4 separate regions of the Homo sapiens genome follow, and all the other regions are linked to region 1. Evidence: promoter capture Hi-C in human tissues and cell types (Jung and others, 2019). All regions are on one chromosome and are shown on one strand. Each heading gives the region's core, a stretch centred on a gene start or on the middle of the fragment in contact. The rest is flanking DNA. Distances are from core to core; before and after follow the strand shown.

Region 1 (3,769 bases), core at 798-3,297:
TAGGCCAGGCTGGTCTCAAACTCCTGAACTCAAGTGATCTGCCCGCCTCAGCCTCCCAAAGTGCTGGGATTACAGGCGTGAGCCACAGCGCCCAGTTAATTGTTGTACTTTTAGTAGAGATGGGGTTTCGCCATGTTGGCCAGGCTGGTCTCGAACTCCTGACCTCAGGTGATCCACCTGCCTTAGCCTCCCAGACTGCTGGGATTAAGGCGTGAGCCCCCGCACCCGGCCCCAAACCCTTTCTGAAAGATGATTCTCCCACTGGCCCGAATAACTGAATATGGACAAATGTCAGCTCAGCCTGCAGCACTGTAGGGGCAGACCACCACGGTGGAACAGAGTCCCGAGCTGGCAGCGTCCGGGAGCTGCAAGTGTCCCTAGCCAACACTGGCCAGAACGGGGACCCTGGCCCTGCAAAGGTAAGGCACTGAGCTCTGTCAATAACCAGTGGGCTCAGAAGAAGACCCCAAGATGATGGACCCCAAAAAACAACCCTCAGTTACAACCTCCTGAGAGCCCTTGAGGCTGTGGTACCCTGGCTCCTGACTCACAGATCCTGTGAGATAATAAAATGGTGCTGTTTCAGCTGCTAAATGGGTGATTTGCTATGAAGGGCAGAAAACAAAGGGAAGCAGTGTGACCAGCAAGAGCGGCCGCTCACTCATGTCCTTCCATGTCCGGAGTCAGCATGGTGTAGACTGAGAAAACATTTTATTCATATTCCTTTTTCTTTTTGTTTTGAGACGGAGTCTTGCCCTATCGCCAGGCTGGAGTGCGGTGGCACAATCTCGCCTCTGGGGTTCAAGCAATTCTCCTGCCTCAGCCCCCCGAGTAGCTGGGACTACAAGCGTGCGCCACCATGCCCAGCTAACTTTTTGTATTTTAGTAGAGACAGGGTTTCACCACGTAGGCCAGGATGGTCTTGATCTCCTGACCTCCTGATCTGCCTGCCTCGGCCTCCCAAAGTGTCAAGATTAAAGGCATGAGCCACTGTGCCTGGCCTCCTTTTTCTCTTTTGAGACTGGGCCTTGCTCTGTGGCCCAGGCTGGAGTGCAGTGGTGCGGTCATAGCTCACTGCAGCCTCAAACCCTAGGGTGAAGCCACCCTCCTGCTTCAGACTCCCAAATTGCTGGGATTACACACGTGAGCCGCCCCGTCCGGCTGGGGCACTGTGATTTTTAATAACTCTCATGCCACCCAGTTGTCTACAATCCAGGGACAAAGAGGTTTGGGTCCCCGTCTTACAAAAAAAAGAAACCAAAGATCCAAGAGGCTATTGAATAAGTGACGTGTTGTCTGACTGCTTACTTCCTGCTGAGAGCTGCCTCAATTACATTACATGCCTGTAACCATTCATTCTCACCACCCCCTGTGAAGTGGGTGGAGTTACCAGCCCCATTTGACAAATGAGGAAACGGAGGCTAGGAGAAGGCAGCTCACTTGCCCAGTCAAAAATGCTAGGCTGGGCATGGTGGCTCATGCCTGAAATCCCAGCAATTTAGGGGGCTGAGGCAGGCAGATCGCTTGAGGCCAGGAGTTTGAGACCATCCTGGCCAACATGGCCTCTCTACTAAAAATACAAATATTAGCCGGGCGTGGTGGTACACATTAATTCCAGCTACTCGGGAGGCTGAGGCACAAGAATCACTTGAACCTGGGAGGCGGAGGTTGCAGTGAGCTGAGATCGCACCACTGCACTCCAGCCCGGGTGACAGAGCGAGACTGCGTCTCAAAAAAAATAATGAAAATAAATAAAAGAGGTGCTTCCGCATGCGTCCTCATCATCTCTGTTGCTGGGTTTATTTGAAATTTTTAAAGAGGGGGTACCGACAGCGGGAGCCTCCTCACCTTCGCGGCCTCCCTGGAACTTTACCCGGATCGTCTTGTCGATGTACTTGGACAAGTCCAAGATGCTCTCCTTTTTCTTCTTCTCCTTATCCTGCGGGGAAAGCAGAGCGCATGAGACCTGGAGCGCGGCCCGAGCTCCACGCCCCCCGGCTCCAGATTCCGCCGCGCGCTCACCGCCATCTTGTCGCGCCGTGTGGCTCTTCGCAGGCACCGCCCCGCGCCCTTTGACCTCCCCCACGCGCATGCGCGGCGCATGCGTGGCCCGGGGTCTCGGGGCGTTGCTGGGAAACATCTGCCGTTGGTTGCGGCGGGCACCGGCCGACATGGCGGCAGCGGTGGCGGCTGCGCTGGCGCGGCTTTTGGCGGCCTTTCTGCTCCTCGCGGCCCAGGTGAGCGCGGCACCGGTCCCGACGGCACCGCGGGCTGCGGCCCTTCGGCCTCTCTGTCCCCGGGCTACGCGCAGGAACGACCCCGCTCGGCCCGTCTTGGGGGTCCAGCCTCGGGGATCCGCCGTCCCCGCGTTGTCGGCCGGCGGTGCCGGGGCTCGGCCGTGACCTTGCGGGTCTGTCCCCGGCTCCTCTCCTTTCCCCGCCTCGGAGGCCCTCCGCCGCTGCAGCGCCACTCACTTCCCACCGGGTCTGAAATTTGTGCCCCCTCCATCCTCCGGTTCTGCTTCTCCGTTTCGGGGTCTCCAGTTGCCGCCGGGGACGCCTCTCTCCGGCTCTGTGGCCTTGAGCAGGCGGCTGCCCACCCCTCTCCGAGCCTCAGTTTCCCCTTAGGCGGAACGGGCACGGTGCTAAGCTAACCTCACCCTAGGGGGTGCGGTGGGGGAACCCAGAGGCGTCCCGCGCGTCCCCCAGTAACTGGCAGCATCCTGGAGCGGCCAGGAGTCCAGCCCTGCACTGGGGTCGGATCCCCGCTCCATCTTTTACTCCGTGACCTTGGACGATGGAATTCGTGTGCAGAAGGAGGACCGACTATGGTGTGGATTCTGGAGGTTCTGTCCAGGGTGACCAGCGCCCAGGGCCAACAGGCCTTCATTATGTTCATTGTGTGTCATTTGATGTAAAGAGTGTCAGGTTCTAGTGGGGACAGTCTACGAGATCGCACTGTCATAACTGCATCTTTTATTTTCTTAATTCCAAATCTTCCCTCTCTCCTGAGTTCGGTGGCTCAGGCAATGGAACCTGGAGCAGCCCCACAAATGCAGCCCTTAACCTTCACTACCCCCTCAGAGTTCTCACTCTTAAGGCGTCGCCGCCACCTGGCTCCTCAGTCTCCACTCCTCCAGCCCCACCGCTATCCCTCTGCTGTGGCTGCCTTTGTCCACCACATCCCCAGTCCATCCTCGACACAGCAGGGGTGACCCTTTCAAAGTATGTCAGACCGTGTCGCATCCAGATGAGTGCGCCGTCCAGTTGTGACCTGGCTGCTGGGGAAGCCTGCAGCTCATTGCAGTCGCTTCACTCTCTAGTCTTTTCTCTTACCCTGAGATGCCCCTGGTCTCTGCAAGGCTGTCGGGCCCCCTCGGAAGCTTTCTGAGAACCCCAGTCCTACCCCCAGCTGCTCTGTCAGCCCCCTTTGGACTCCCCCCATTCTGCAGCCAGGCACCTAGAGCTCCCCAGACATTTGGAAGGAGGGGGAAAGCCAGAGGTGGAAGAAAGATCACAGAACTCTGTGGAGAGAGGGACTCAGTTTGCCTGGGAAGGCTTTTCCGAAGCAGATCTATTTTTTTTTTTTGAGACGGAGTCTCGCTCTGTCGCCCAGGCTGGAGTGCAGTGGCATGATCTAGGCTCACTGCAACCTCTGCCTCCCGGTTCAAGCAATTCTCCCACCTCAGCCTCCCGAATAGCTGGGATTACAGGTGCATGCCACCACTCCTGGCTAAATTTTTTTTTTTTTTTTTTTAGTAGAGACGAGG
Region 2 (3,769 bases), core at 576-3,075, 360 kb after region 1:
TCACCGTGTTAGCCAGGATGGTCTCGATCTCCTGACCTCGTGATCCGCCCGCCTCGGCCTCCCAAAGTGCTGGGATTACAGGCGTGAGCCACCGCGCCTGGCCACTTTTTTTCTTTTTTTTTTTTTTGAGACAAGGTCTGGCTCTGTCACCCACACTGGAGTGCAGGGGCATGATCTTGGCTCACTGCAGCCTCAACTTCCTGGGCTCAAGCGACCCTCCTGCCTCGGACTCCCGAGTAGCTGGGATTACAGGCATGCGCCACTATACTCAGTTAATTTTTTTCTCTTTTTTGTAGAGATGGTGTCTTACTATGTTGTCCAGGCTGGTCTCAAGCTCCTGGGCTCAAGCAATCCTCTCATCTTGGCCTCCCAAAGTGCTGGGGTTAGGCTGGGCATGGTGGCTCACACCTGTAATGCCAGCACTTTGGGAGGCCGAGGCGGGTGGATCACCTGAGGTCAGGAGTTCGAGACCAGCCTGGCCAACATGGAGAAACCCTGCCTCTACTAAAAATACAAAATTAGCCAGGCATGGTGGCCCATGCCTGTAATCCCAGCTAGTTGGGAGGTTGAGGTAGGAGAATCGCTTGAGCCCGGGAGGCAGAGGTTGCGGTGAGCCGAGATCGCACCATTGCACTCCAGCCTGGGCAACAAGAGTGAAACTCCATCTCAAAAAACAAACAAACAAAAAAAAGTGCTGGCATGACAGGAGTAAGCCACCAGCCTGGCCAAGAAGTTTAAATCATGATGCCGGGCGCGGTGGCTCACGCCTGTAATTCCAGCACTTTGGGAGGCCGAGGCAGGCAGATCACATGGTCAGGAGTTCGAGACCAGCCTGGCCAACACGGCGAAACCCCATCTCTACTAAAAATACAAAAAATTAGCCGGGCAAGGTGGCACGCACCTGTAATCCCAACTATTTGGGAGGCTGAGGCAGGAGAATCAGTTGAACCTGAGTGAGCTGAGATCGTGCCACTGTACTCCAACCTGGGCAACAAGAACAAAACTCTGCCTCCAGATAAAATAGCCGGGCGCGGTGGCTCACGCCTGTAATCCCAGCACTTTGGGAGGCCGAGCTGGGCAGATCACAAGGTCAGGAGATCGAGACTATCCTGGCTAACACGGTGAAACCCCGTCCCTACTAAAAATAACAAAAAATTAGCCGGGCATGGTGGCGGGTGCCTGTAGTCCCAGTTACTCGGGAGGCTGAGGCAGGAGAATGGTGTAAACCCAGGAGGTGGAGCTTGCAGTGAGCCAAGATCGCGCCACTGCACTCCAGCCTGGGCGACAGAGCGAGACTCCGTCTCAACAAAAGAAAAAAGAAATCATGATGCAAAGATGAAAAGCAAAGTTTGCCGTACGAAGGATGGAGTCGGTGTCAGTGCTCTGGGGAAGTGGGGAGTTCCCTCAGCAAGAATGACCTCAGAGTAGCTGGTAGGTGGGCTAAGGCCACCTGGGCTGGGAGAACCAGGTTAACAGCACCAGTAGGAAGTCACCAGGGTCTCAAGGATCCCCAGCAGGGAGAGAGCAACAGGGCACCTCACCCCTACGTGTTCTTTCCCGAAACCCGTAACCCCGGTCTGATCACGAGAGAAATATCTGACAAACCTAGATCAGAAGTAAGTCTGCACAATACCCAGCCGGTCCCCCTAAGACCGTCCAGGTCACGAGAGGTAACGAACATCTAAGACATGGTCCCAACCTGGAAGAACCCCCGGAGACGAGCCGGCTAAATGTCACGTGGGATTCTAGATGGGTCCTGGGGCAGGAAAGGACATTAGGGGAAGATTAATGACATTTGAATAAAGTGTGGAGTTGAGAGAAATGAACCCATTGTTAGCCGGGCACAGTGGCTCCCGTCTGTCCTCCTAACACTTTGGGAGTCCGGGGTGGCAGGATCACTTGTGTTCAGGAGTTCGAGACCAGCCTAGGCAAAATAGCGAGACCTCATCTCTACAATAAAACAAAAATTAGCCAGGCACGGGGTTGCGTGCCTGTGGTCCCAGCTACTCAGGAGGCTGAGGTGGGAGGATCGCTTGAGCCCAGGAGTTGGAGGCTACAGTGAGCCATGATCACTCCACTGCACTTAGCCTGGGCGACAGAGTAAGACTCTGTCTCAAAAAAAAATGTAAATGTAAATTTAAAAAATATTACTTTTAATGGCAAAGACCACAATTATGTTTGCCCCAACATAATAAATACATACAATAAATAAATAAATAAGAAAAAAATAAACAAAAATAAAAATAATGCAAAAAAAAAGGGGGAAAAAAATGCCAATCATACTATGCATGGCACCGTGTTATAGGGGAAAAAAAATAATTATATAAAATTGTTCCCAAATCATTAAGCCCTTCTCATTATGGAGGCTACAGGAATAAACGCTCCTAACAAGACCACATTTGGGCCGGGCTCGGTGGGCCTCCCAGCACTTTGGGAGGCCAAGGCGGGTGGATCACCTGAGGTCAGAAGTTCGAGACCAGCCTGGCCATCATGGTGAAACCCCGTCTCTACTAAAAATACAAAAAATAGCCGGGTGTGGTGGTGGACGCCTGTAATCCCAGCTACTCAGGAGGCTAAGGCAGGAGGATCACTTGAACCTGGGAGGCGGAGGCTGCAGTGAGCTGAGATGGCGCCATTGCACTCCAGCCTGGGCTACAGAGTGAGACTCCAACTCAAAAAAAAAAAAAAAAAAAAAAAAAAACCATATTCGATGCAATTCTCTGAAGTTAACTGTTAGAGCTCTGACAACACAGAGGCTGAAATGACATGACAAATGCTAAAGTACAAAGTTCCAAGATCAAGTCCCAGCATGACCACTAACTCGTGAAACCTCCAGACCTCAGTTTTCCCATGCATAAAGCGTGCGAGATGGACTCGAGGGCCAACACGCTTTTTCGGTAAGAGTCCAGATACCCAGTGTTTTCAGCCTTGCGGTGGAGCCACTCTCTACGGCAACGACTTAACTACACCATGGTAGCAGAATACACAGAGCAGTGTGCCAATAAAACATTATTTCTGGACACTAAAATCTGAATGCCATATAATTGTCATGTGTCATGGCCTTTTCTTTGACTTTTGTTTTTTGCTTCTTTTGGCGGCGGGTAGAAGCAGGGCTTCCTTTGACTTTTTTTTCCAACCATTTAAAAATGGAGGCCGGGCACGGTGGCTCACGTCTGTAATCCCAGCACTTTGGGAGGCCGAAGCGAAAGGATCACTTGAGGTCAGGAGTTCGAGACCAGCCTGGCCAACATGGTGAAACCCCATCTCTACTAAAAATACAAAAATTAGCCGAGTGTGGTGTCAGGCGCTTGTAATCCCAGCTACCCGGGAGGCTGAGGCAGGAGAATGGCCTGAACCGGGAGGCAGAGTTTGCAGTGAGCCGAGATCACACCACTGCACTCCAACCTAGGTGACAGAACGAGATTCTGTCTCAAAAAATAAAATAAAATAAAAATAAAAATGGGATAATCATTCTTAGCCCAGGGGCCATATATAAAACCAGGCTGTGGGCCAGAGGTGGCCCAAGGGCGGTGGTTACTGACTCCTGGACTGGACGTGCTCCAAGCCCCTTCCTCAGCTGCCTTTCTAAGATTCTCTGATTACAAATCCATGTGAGTTTTTCTATTTCAACCTGTTGGCTCAGGTCTTTTTTTTTTTCTTCTTGAGACAGGGTCTTGCTCTGTCGCCCAGGCTGGAGTGCAGTGGCACAATCTTGGCTCACTGCAGCCTCCACCTCCCAGATTCAAGCAATACTCCCACCTCAGCCTCC
Region 3 (3,769 bases), core at 509-3,008, 320 kb after region 1:
CAGCCCCCCAAGTAGCTGGGATTACAGGTGCCTAACACCACACCTGGCTAATTTTTGTATTTTTAGTAGAAACGGGGTTTCGCCATGTTGGCCAGGCTAGTCTCAAACTCCTGACCTCAGGTGATCCACCTGCCTTGGCCTCCCAAAGTGCTGGGATTACAGGTGTGAGCCACTGCACCCGGCCTACACTTTATATATATATATATATATATATATATATATATATATATATATATATATATATAATGCTCTATCTATACATGCATCATGTTATTGAGATGTAATTCATATGACATACAGTGCACCCATTTAAAATGCATAATTCTTTCTGAGTATTATCTGCGGCACCAAAAAGAAGAAAAAAATCATAAAATAAAAAGAAAACGCACAATTCAATGGCATTTAGTACATTCAGAGTCCTGCAACCATCACCACTAATTCCAGAACATTCTAATTATGCCAAGAAGAAGAAACCCATCAACCATCACTTCCCATGCCCCTCCCAGTCTCGGCACCCACGCATCCCCTCCCTGCCTCTGTGGATCGGCCCGTCCTGAACCTTTTGTAGAAAGGGGATCACATGCTGTGTGGCCTTTTGTGTCTGGCATCTCTTACTGAGCGTGACGTCCTCAAGGTACATCCACACTGTGGCCTGTGTCAAAGCTTCATTCCTTTTCATGGCTGAGTAACACTCCATGGTGTGGATGGAGGATGTTCTGCTGATCCATTCACCCATTGATGGACATTTGGAGTCTTTGCCTTATTGCTAAATTTGAACATATTCTTGACTTTTGAGTACATCTGTTTCTGAATTACCTCTCATGACCATTGACTACTAAGGATGAGACCAAAATGATTTATACTGGGCTTAGCTAAAATATGCATTTTTAAGGTACACATTACATGCCATAAAATTCAAGTGAAGTGTACTGCTCAAAGATACTTCAGGGCCGGGTGCAATGGTACGCACCTGTAATCCTGGCACTTTGGGAAGTCAAAGCAGGAAGATCACTTGAGCCACGGAGTTCAAGACCAGCCTGGGCAACAAAGCAAACCCTAACTCTTTTCTGTTTTTCTTTCTTTCTTTCTTTTCTCTCTCTCTCTCTCTTTTTTTTTTTTTTAGAAGGAGTTTCGCTCTGTCACCCAGGCTGGAGCGCAGTGGCATGATCTTGGCTCACTGCAACCACCATCTCCCAGGCTCAAGTGATTCTCGCACCTCAGCCTCCCGAGTAGCTTGGACTCTAGGCACCTGCCACCACGCCTGGCTGATTTTCCTATTTTTAGTAGAGATGGGGTTTCACCATGTTGGTCAGGCTGGTCTGGAACTCCTGACCTCAGGTGATCCACCCATCTCGGCCTCCCAAAGTGCTGGGATTACAGGCATGAGCCACCATGCCTGGCCAAAACCCTAACTCTTAAAAAAAAATTTTGTTTTAAGATTTTTAAGTAAGTTCACCAGGTTGCGGTCACCCCGACCCGACCATCGGGTCCATTTCCACGTCCCTGGCAAGTCTCTGGTGCACATTCATGTCCCCAGCCTCCAATCACCACGAGTCCCTTTCTGTCCCTATGGCTTTGCCTTTTCTGGACATTTCTGCCTTCCTTTCTACTTATTTTTAAATGGTTTCCTCTTCCTACATTTTAAAAGCCACTCATGATTCTCTAGGGAGAAAAACGAGGAGTAAATCAACAGAGGAGAGCTAAAGGGCCAGCGACGGGTCACTCTCCAGGTGCACAGGAGATACGGGTGAAGGCTCCTTAAAACTCCCTACCATGGCACGAAGACACCGGAAAGGCATGCAGCACCGCTGTGGGCTTCCCACCCTGACCCCATCCAGGGGCTCCGGCACCAGCAGGACCAGTGAGTGCCACGTTCCCTGCCTCGTGGGCGGGAAACTCTGCCAGGAGCTAGCAGCTGTTACCCACACCTGCTCCCCATTACCCATACTTGGTGGATACAAACAGCCGACAGACCCAGGTCAAGGCCAAGACGCCCGCCTTGACGGCAACCCCACGTCTTACATCCAGGGTGCAAAACAGCCAACTGAACCTCAAATCATAACAAAGAAATGCATTACAGCACCGACCTGTGCAGGAGGTCTCGCCGTCTGCAGCACCGAGATCCCGAAACCAAGCTCCACTCCCTGGAAAAAACACATAGAGTTAGTTTGGCGTGGCTTGGCTGGAGGCACCATGCATGTGTTGATGGGGTCAGCATTGGAGAACGGCCTCGCGCTTGTGATTGGACAAGGACAGAAATCATTTTGGCAACCAGGCGCGGTGGCTTAGGCCTGTAATCCCAGCACTTTGGGAGGCCAAGGCAGGTGGATCATGAGGTCAGAAGTTCGAGACCAGCCTGGCCAACATGGCAAAATCCCGTCTCTACTAAAAATATAAAAATTAGCCAACGTGGTGGTGGGTGCCTGTAGTCCCAGCTACTTAGGAGGCTGAGGCAGGAGAATCCCTTGAACCCGGGAGGCAGAGGGTGCAGTGAGCTGAGATCGAGCCACTGTCCTCCAGCCTGGGCAACAGGGCAAGACTCTGCTTCAAAAAAAAAAATAATAGAAAAGGAAAAAAGCAGAAGACAATTCACTGAAAATATTTATTATTAGAGATTTATGACGTTATTCCTAATACATTTTCCACGTGTTTGAAAACTGAACTGAGTGCAAGGATTGATGTTTCTACGGCTCTTCACAGTTTATCAAAAACATCTCTGTACATCTTTGGAGCCTCACGATCTCCCTGGGAGGAAGAAGAAGGGGCTGAGTTAGTCCCACGGTGCCCAGAAGGCACCCAACGTATCCAGGTCTGCCCAGGACTTTTCCAGAGTTAGCCTGAAAGTCCTGCATCCTGGGAAGTCCCTCAGCCCCAGCTCAGCTGGTACGGGCAGTCTCTGAGCAGAACCAGGCTGGCACCACATGCCTGAGGCTGCGACCAGGAACTCCCCACCTCGGGGGACTCGGGGGGACCCTGCCACCATCACTGACAGGACAAGCTCCAGGGCCAAAGCTGTTCCTGCAAACACCGTGGTTTATATGAAATCCTTGCCTCCCTCTGGAGCCTGGAATCCTGGCATGGGTCAGGCAGCAGGGGCAGCAGAACCAGCCCCCATAGGAACGTGGGTGCTGGGTCTCTGGGAGCCTCGCTGGTGACAGTGCTTTGGGCTGTTGTCCCAGCTCGCTGCTGGGGATGTGGCGTGTCCCGCGTGACACATGGGGAGAGGGCCTGGAAGCTGGGCCTAGAAGCCGGGCCTGGCCTCCCCGACCCACCCCACGAGCCTTTCCCTTCCCAAACTCTGCTCTGTGCTCCATGTCCTCTTGCTGGGACAAACCACAGTCACAAGGAGGCCTCATGCGGAGTCCAGGGTCCTCCCAGCGAGTCGCCCCATCTCTACAAAATGACCCCATCTTGACAAAAAAAATTTAAAAATTAGGAGGGTGTAGTGGTGCCCGCCTGTGACCCCAGCTACTCGAGAGGCTGAGATGGGAGGATCGCTTGATCCTGGGAGATCAAGGTTGCTGTGAGCTAGGATTGCACCACTGCACTCCAGCCTAGGCAACAGAGTGCAATCCTGTCTGAGAAAAAATAAAAATAAATGCCACATGGGGCCAGGCACGGTGGCTCACACCTGTAATCCCATCACTTTGGGGGGCCGAGGTGGGAGGATCACCTGAGGTCACGAGTTCGAGACCAGCCGGGTCAACATGTTGAAATCCTGTCTCTACTAAAAATACAAAAATTAGCCAGGTGTGGTGGTGGGCGCCCG
Region 4 (3,769 bases), core at 1,270-3,769, 280 kb before region 1:
CCTCCTGCCTCCCCACCCACCCTGGCTCGGGCAGATAGCTACCAGGAGGCTGCTGGGGGAGGAGGGAAGGAAGGGGGGGGCTCCAACTAGCCCCCATGGGAGTCAGCATTCCCATAAGGCTCCTGTCCAGAGGCCCCTGGTGGCCCTGGGGCAGCCACCACAAGGCAGGTGACCAGGGTCTAAGGCCAGACTGGAGTTCACCTGCTGTCTGACCTTGGCCTAGTGACCTCACCCTGGGGTCTGTCAGCGGTGAGACGGGAGGCAGCTGCCCCCAACTCGTGGGAGCTCACGAGAGTGAAATGACCTAAGGGGCCACAGAGCCCAGCGTGAGCTCCTGGCCCTGTCTGGCCACCGTTCCCCTGTGCCAGCCACAGCCTCCAACTCAGCAAAGCTACAGATGGACGGCCGCAGCCACCACAGCGGAGGGGCCAGGCACCACGAGACTCCGCGGCCTCCTCGCCCGTGTACAGGGGAGCCCCAGGCACACGCGCCTGCAGTCTCAGAGCCTCACTTTCCCATCTGCGAACGGAAAGAAACCCAAGGCACCCACAGACGTGCCTCCCTGCTGGGCTGCTGCCTGCTGGAGGCAAGGAGAGTATTTCAGGAGAGGTGGCCCCAATCCAGGGAGCAGCCGTGCATGGTGGGGGCTGTGGGGGGAGATTCCTAGAGCAACCGGTCCCGGCCACCTGGAGGAACACCTCACAGCCAGGACTGCCTGCCAGGCCCTCCTCCACCAAGACGCCCACCTTCCCAGCTCCCAGCCAGGCTGCCCTGGCCATGCACAGAGGCCGGCCCACAATCCTGGGCAGTGTGGGCGGTCCTGGTCCCACTGTTCTAGGTCTGGCTGTGGGACTCGAGTCAGCAGGCCTTGGCAGGAGGTGGCTGGAACCATCTAGAAAGTTCAAGTGTGCTTTAGCTGCCTGGCTGGCCCCATGCACTGACTCTGTATCAGCTCATGCCTGGCCCTAGGAGGGAGAAGACCACTGTCAGGTCCTCCTCTTTCCCGCCCAGCCCCTGACACTCTGATGGTGCCAGGCCTGCTGCCCTAGGGGAAAACTGGGCAGGGGTGGCAGGGGTGGAGTGCTGCCCTGGGGCACTGGCTGGACAGACCTGGGAATTCTTCCCAGTCTCTCTTTGCTCCTCCCACCCTGGAGCACCGCGTTGTGTGTACACACAAGACAGAGACACACACACACACAAACACACACACATACACTCACACTCTCTCTTCCTCTCTCCAGTCCTGCCTTCCCTACCGGGCAACAGGTCCCTGCCCAAGGAAGCCCAGTGAAGCGATTACATAACCCCGGCCTGAGGGGTGGGGCGGGCCGGCTGACATCACTGCGTCCCCTGGGCCAGGTCCTGCGGGGCCCCTGCCCAGCACCTGCCCTCCCCTTCCCCCCCAAGATTTGCTCATCTGAAACCAGCACTCAACAGCAGTCACCACCCGGGCTGCGCAGAAACTTCCCGCTCCGACAGGAAACAGCACTTGGGCCTGGGGTGTCTGCGAAGTGCAGGGCTGAGGGGACATCCCATCCCCTCCCCCACGGCACAGGCCCCCTGGGGGTGGGTGCACCTGACCAGCCCGGCCTGGGGATTCTGAAAGAAAGTCCCCAGAAGCCACATGGAGGTGGGAATGGGACTGTGGCCCGCTGACCCGTCCCCACCAGGGCACAACCAGCTGGAGCTTGCAGGGGACACCCCCCATAAGCCACATGCAGCGACTGGGACAGGACTGCAGCCTGCTGACCCCCCAGAACATACCCGGCGGGGGCTTGCAGGGGACACACAGCCTGGTGCCCTGACCCGGAGGGGGCTCCTGCTCCCAGCCTCACTTGGGGGTCCTGGAGGAAGGACCCGGCGGCCATGGCTGGAGAGAGGACTGTGGCCTGCTGAACCCCCATCCTCGCACACCGACCCCGCTTCAGCGCACGGCCGGCCCGGGCAGCCCCGGGTGTAGGGCGGGGGCCAGGCACGAGCCCCGGGAGCCGATCTTAGGGGCGGGCCCCGCGCCCCCCACGCCGGCCATTCCGGTGGTCCAGCCCGGAGCGCCCCCAAACCGACCCCGGGCCTCACCTTGAACGAACGGTGGAAACCCTGAAGTTCGGCTGGTTTCTTCTGCACCATCTTCTGTCCGGGCCCCGCCAGCGGGGGAGGGGACCGAGGGCCCGGGGGGAGGCCCGAGGGCGGGCGGCCGGGCGGGGGGCGGCCGAGGAGGGGACCCTGCGGGCGGGAGCAGACAAAGGGAGGGCGGTGAGCGGAGCCCGGCCTGCCAGGAGCGCGGACCGGGCGGGGGCGGCGAGGGCTCCGCGGGGCCCGTTTCCCGCTACCGGGTCGGTGTCCTCGGGGCCGCCCTGGGGTTCGCACTCACCGGGGTCGGGCTTGGGCCGGGGCCGCAGTGCCGCCGCCGCCCCACGTCGCGCAGCCCGGACCCCGCTCCGCGGACCGCGCGGGGAACAGCGCCGCCGCCGCCGCCAGCGCGGACCCCTCTACCTGGGCCACCGCCGCTGAGAGGAGCCGGGCGCGTCGCCGCCGCCGCCACCTTTATAGGCCCGGACCTGCTCTGGCCCCGCCCCCGACGCAGGCTCCGCCCGGCCTCACCCCCTGCGCACGACGTGGGCGGAGCCAGAAGAGGGCGCTCTCCGGGAACCCAGTGCGGCTGCGCGCTCCGGCGGTGGGGCGTGTCCGAAACGGCTAGCGCACGCCTGCGCAGTGCGGCGCACGGGGGTCTCGGTGCGGAACCTAGGCAGCGACCCTGCGGCGCGCCCGGAGCTGGCCTGTTTTTGCCGCCTGAGGCTCGCGGGGCCCGTGGGACCTGCGAGGCCCTGGGCCGTGTCCTACCGCCTGGCCCCACACAGGGCAACTCCCTTGGCCTGTCAACCCAGGCCTAGTATACCCCGACTCCCTTGGTTCATGCCCTCGCTCTAGAACCTGCCATGGCTCCCTCTTGCAGTTCTCCAGTGCTGGCTCCAGCAGTCCCCCTCGTGCACCACCAGCACGCTTGGAGTCCCAGCCACTCCCTTCTAGTGCTGGGGGACCAGCCACCGCCACCTACTTTCTTCTTCCCCTGGGCCACCCTGCCTGGGGAGCACTGAGCTCCCCGAGTTTGCTTTGTGGTTGGCAGGAACCAGAGTAGAGGGTGGGGACCGAGGTCTGTGAAGGACCCTTCCTCTGTCCTCGAATAGCATTTCAGGGAGAACTGGGACCTGAGACCCACTGGGAAAGAGCCCAAGGGGTGGATGGTCGCCAGGACAGGAAGTAAAACACAGTCCCATTTTGGCTGGGGCCCCAAACCAGGCTTAGATAGAATCAGCCTGTCCTGAGCTGCCAGTCCCCCATCCCACAGCATCCTGGTTCAAAGTGCTCCCCAGGCCCCGGGCCTGGGGCACACAAGGAGTGGGGGTTCCCCTGCTGGGTGGACTGTGGTCTCCTCTTCTGCAGGGGTTTCCAGAAGCTTCGCACAGCCCATCCCACCATCCCCCAACCAGGCCCTGAGCTCAAGAGGGGCTGGAGCCCCACTGACCTGAAGCTGGAGGGCCCCTGCCTGCAAGGCCACAGCTCTCAGGCCACAGGGGCTGGGAGGCCTGGCCTCAGCCACCCCCGGGGCATTGGGGGGAAGCCTGTGGGGAATTCCCAGCCAGAACCCAGCCCAGCACCTGGCATTGCCCTGACTCTTGGCAATGGGGGGACAGAAAACCAGGTCCCCCAGCCCCCCTTATTGTGCATGTGGGTGCGTGTGTGTGCGTGTGAACACATACACGCACAAACA

The links. The method cuts DNA at HindIII sites, captures the fragments that hold promoters and counts their contacts. A contact is called where the count stands out against the background at its distance.
Region 2: a fragment that was not itself captured here is called in contact with the fragment with the promoter of LSM7 in region 1 in 2 of the 25 tissues and cell types used here (dorsolateral prefrontal cortex and mesenchymal stem cells).
Region 3: a contact is called between a fragment that was not itself captured here and the fragment with the promoter of LSM7 in region 1, in 1 of the 25 tissues and cell types used here (dorsolateral prefrontal cortex).
Region 4: a contact is called between the fragment with the promoter of MKNK2 here and the fragment with the promoter of LSM7 in region 1, in 1 of the 25 tissues and cell types used here (dorsolateral prefrontal cortex).

Annotation. Positions count from the first base shown.
Region 1 is chr19:2,326,539-2,330,307 of GRCh38, forward strand. LSM7 (LSM7 homolog, U6 small nuclear RNA and mRNA degradation associated) reads right to left here and starts at 2,048. Exons shown (of 4, transcript NM_016199.3): 1 at 2,023-2,048; 2 at 1,849-1,939. The coding sequence starts at 2,028. It overlaps SPPL2B (signal peptide peptidase like 2B), which reads left to right and starts at 2,146. Exons shown (of 15, transcript NM_152988.3): 1 at 2,146-2,237. The coding sequence starts at 2,172. RefSeq lists silencers at 1,053-1,152, 2,173-2,432 and enhancers at 1,423-1,482, 1,763-2,417, 1,853-1,902, 1,913-1,962. The HindIII fragment of the contact is 22,122 bases long and covers 1-3,769 here.
Region 2 is chr19:2,686,949-2,690,717 of GRCh38, forward strand. All of the region lies in intron 1 of GNG7 (G protein subunit gamma 7), which reads right to left. Among named protein-coding and RNA genes, the nearest start is that of GNG7, 14 kb to the right of the region's middle. The HindIII fragment of the contact is 8,454 bases long and covers 1-3,769 here.
Region 3 is chr19:2,644,137-2,647,905 of GRCh38, forward strand. GNG7 (G protein subunit gamma 7) reads right to left here. Exons shown (of 5, transcript NM_052847.3): 2 at 2,088-2,144. Among named protein-coding and RNA genes, the nearest start is that of MIR7850, 15 kb to the left of the region's middle. The HindIII fragment of the contact is 9,525 bases long and covers 1-3,769 here.
Region 4 is chr19:2,048,725-2,052,493 of GRCh38, forward strand. MKNK2 (MAPK interacting serine/threonine kinase 2) reads right to left here and starts at 2,520. Exons shown (of 14, transcript NM_199054.3): 1 at 2,372-2,520; 2 at 2,077-2,223. The coding sequence starts at 2,127. RefSeq lists enhancers at 1-114, 772-1,428, 1,605-1,664 and silencers at 1,235-1,424, 2,155-2,694. The HindIII fragment of the contact is 30,775 bases long and covers 1-3,769 here.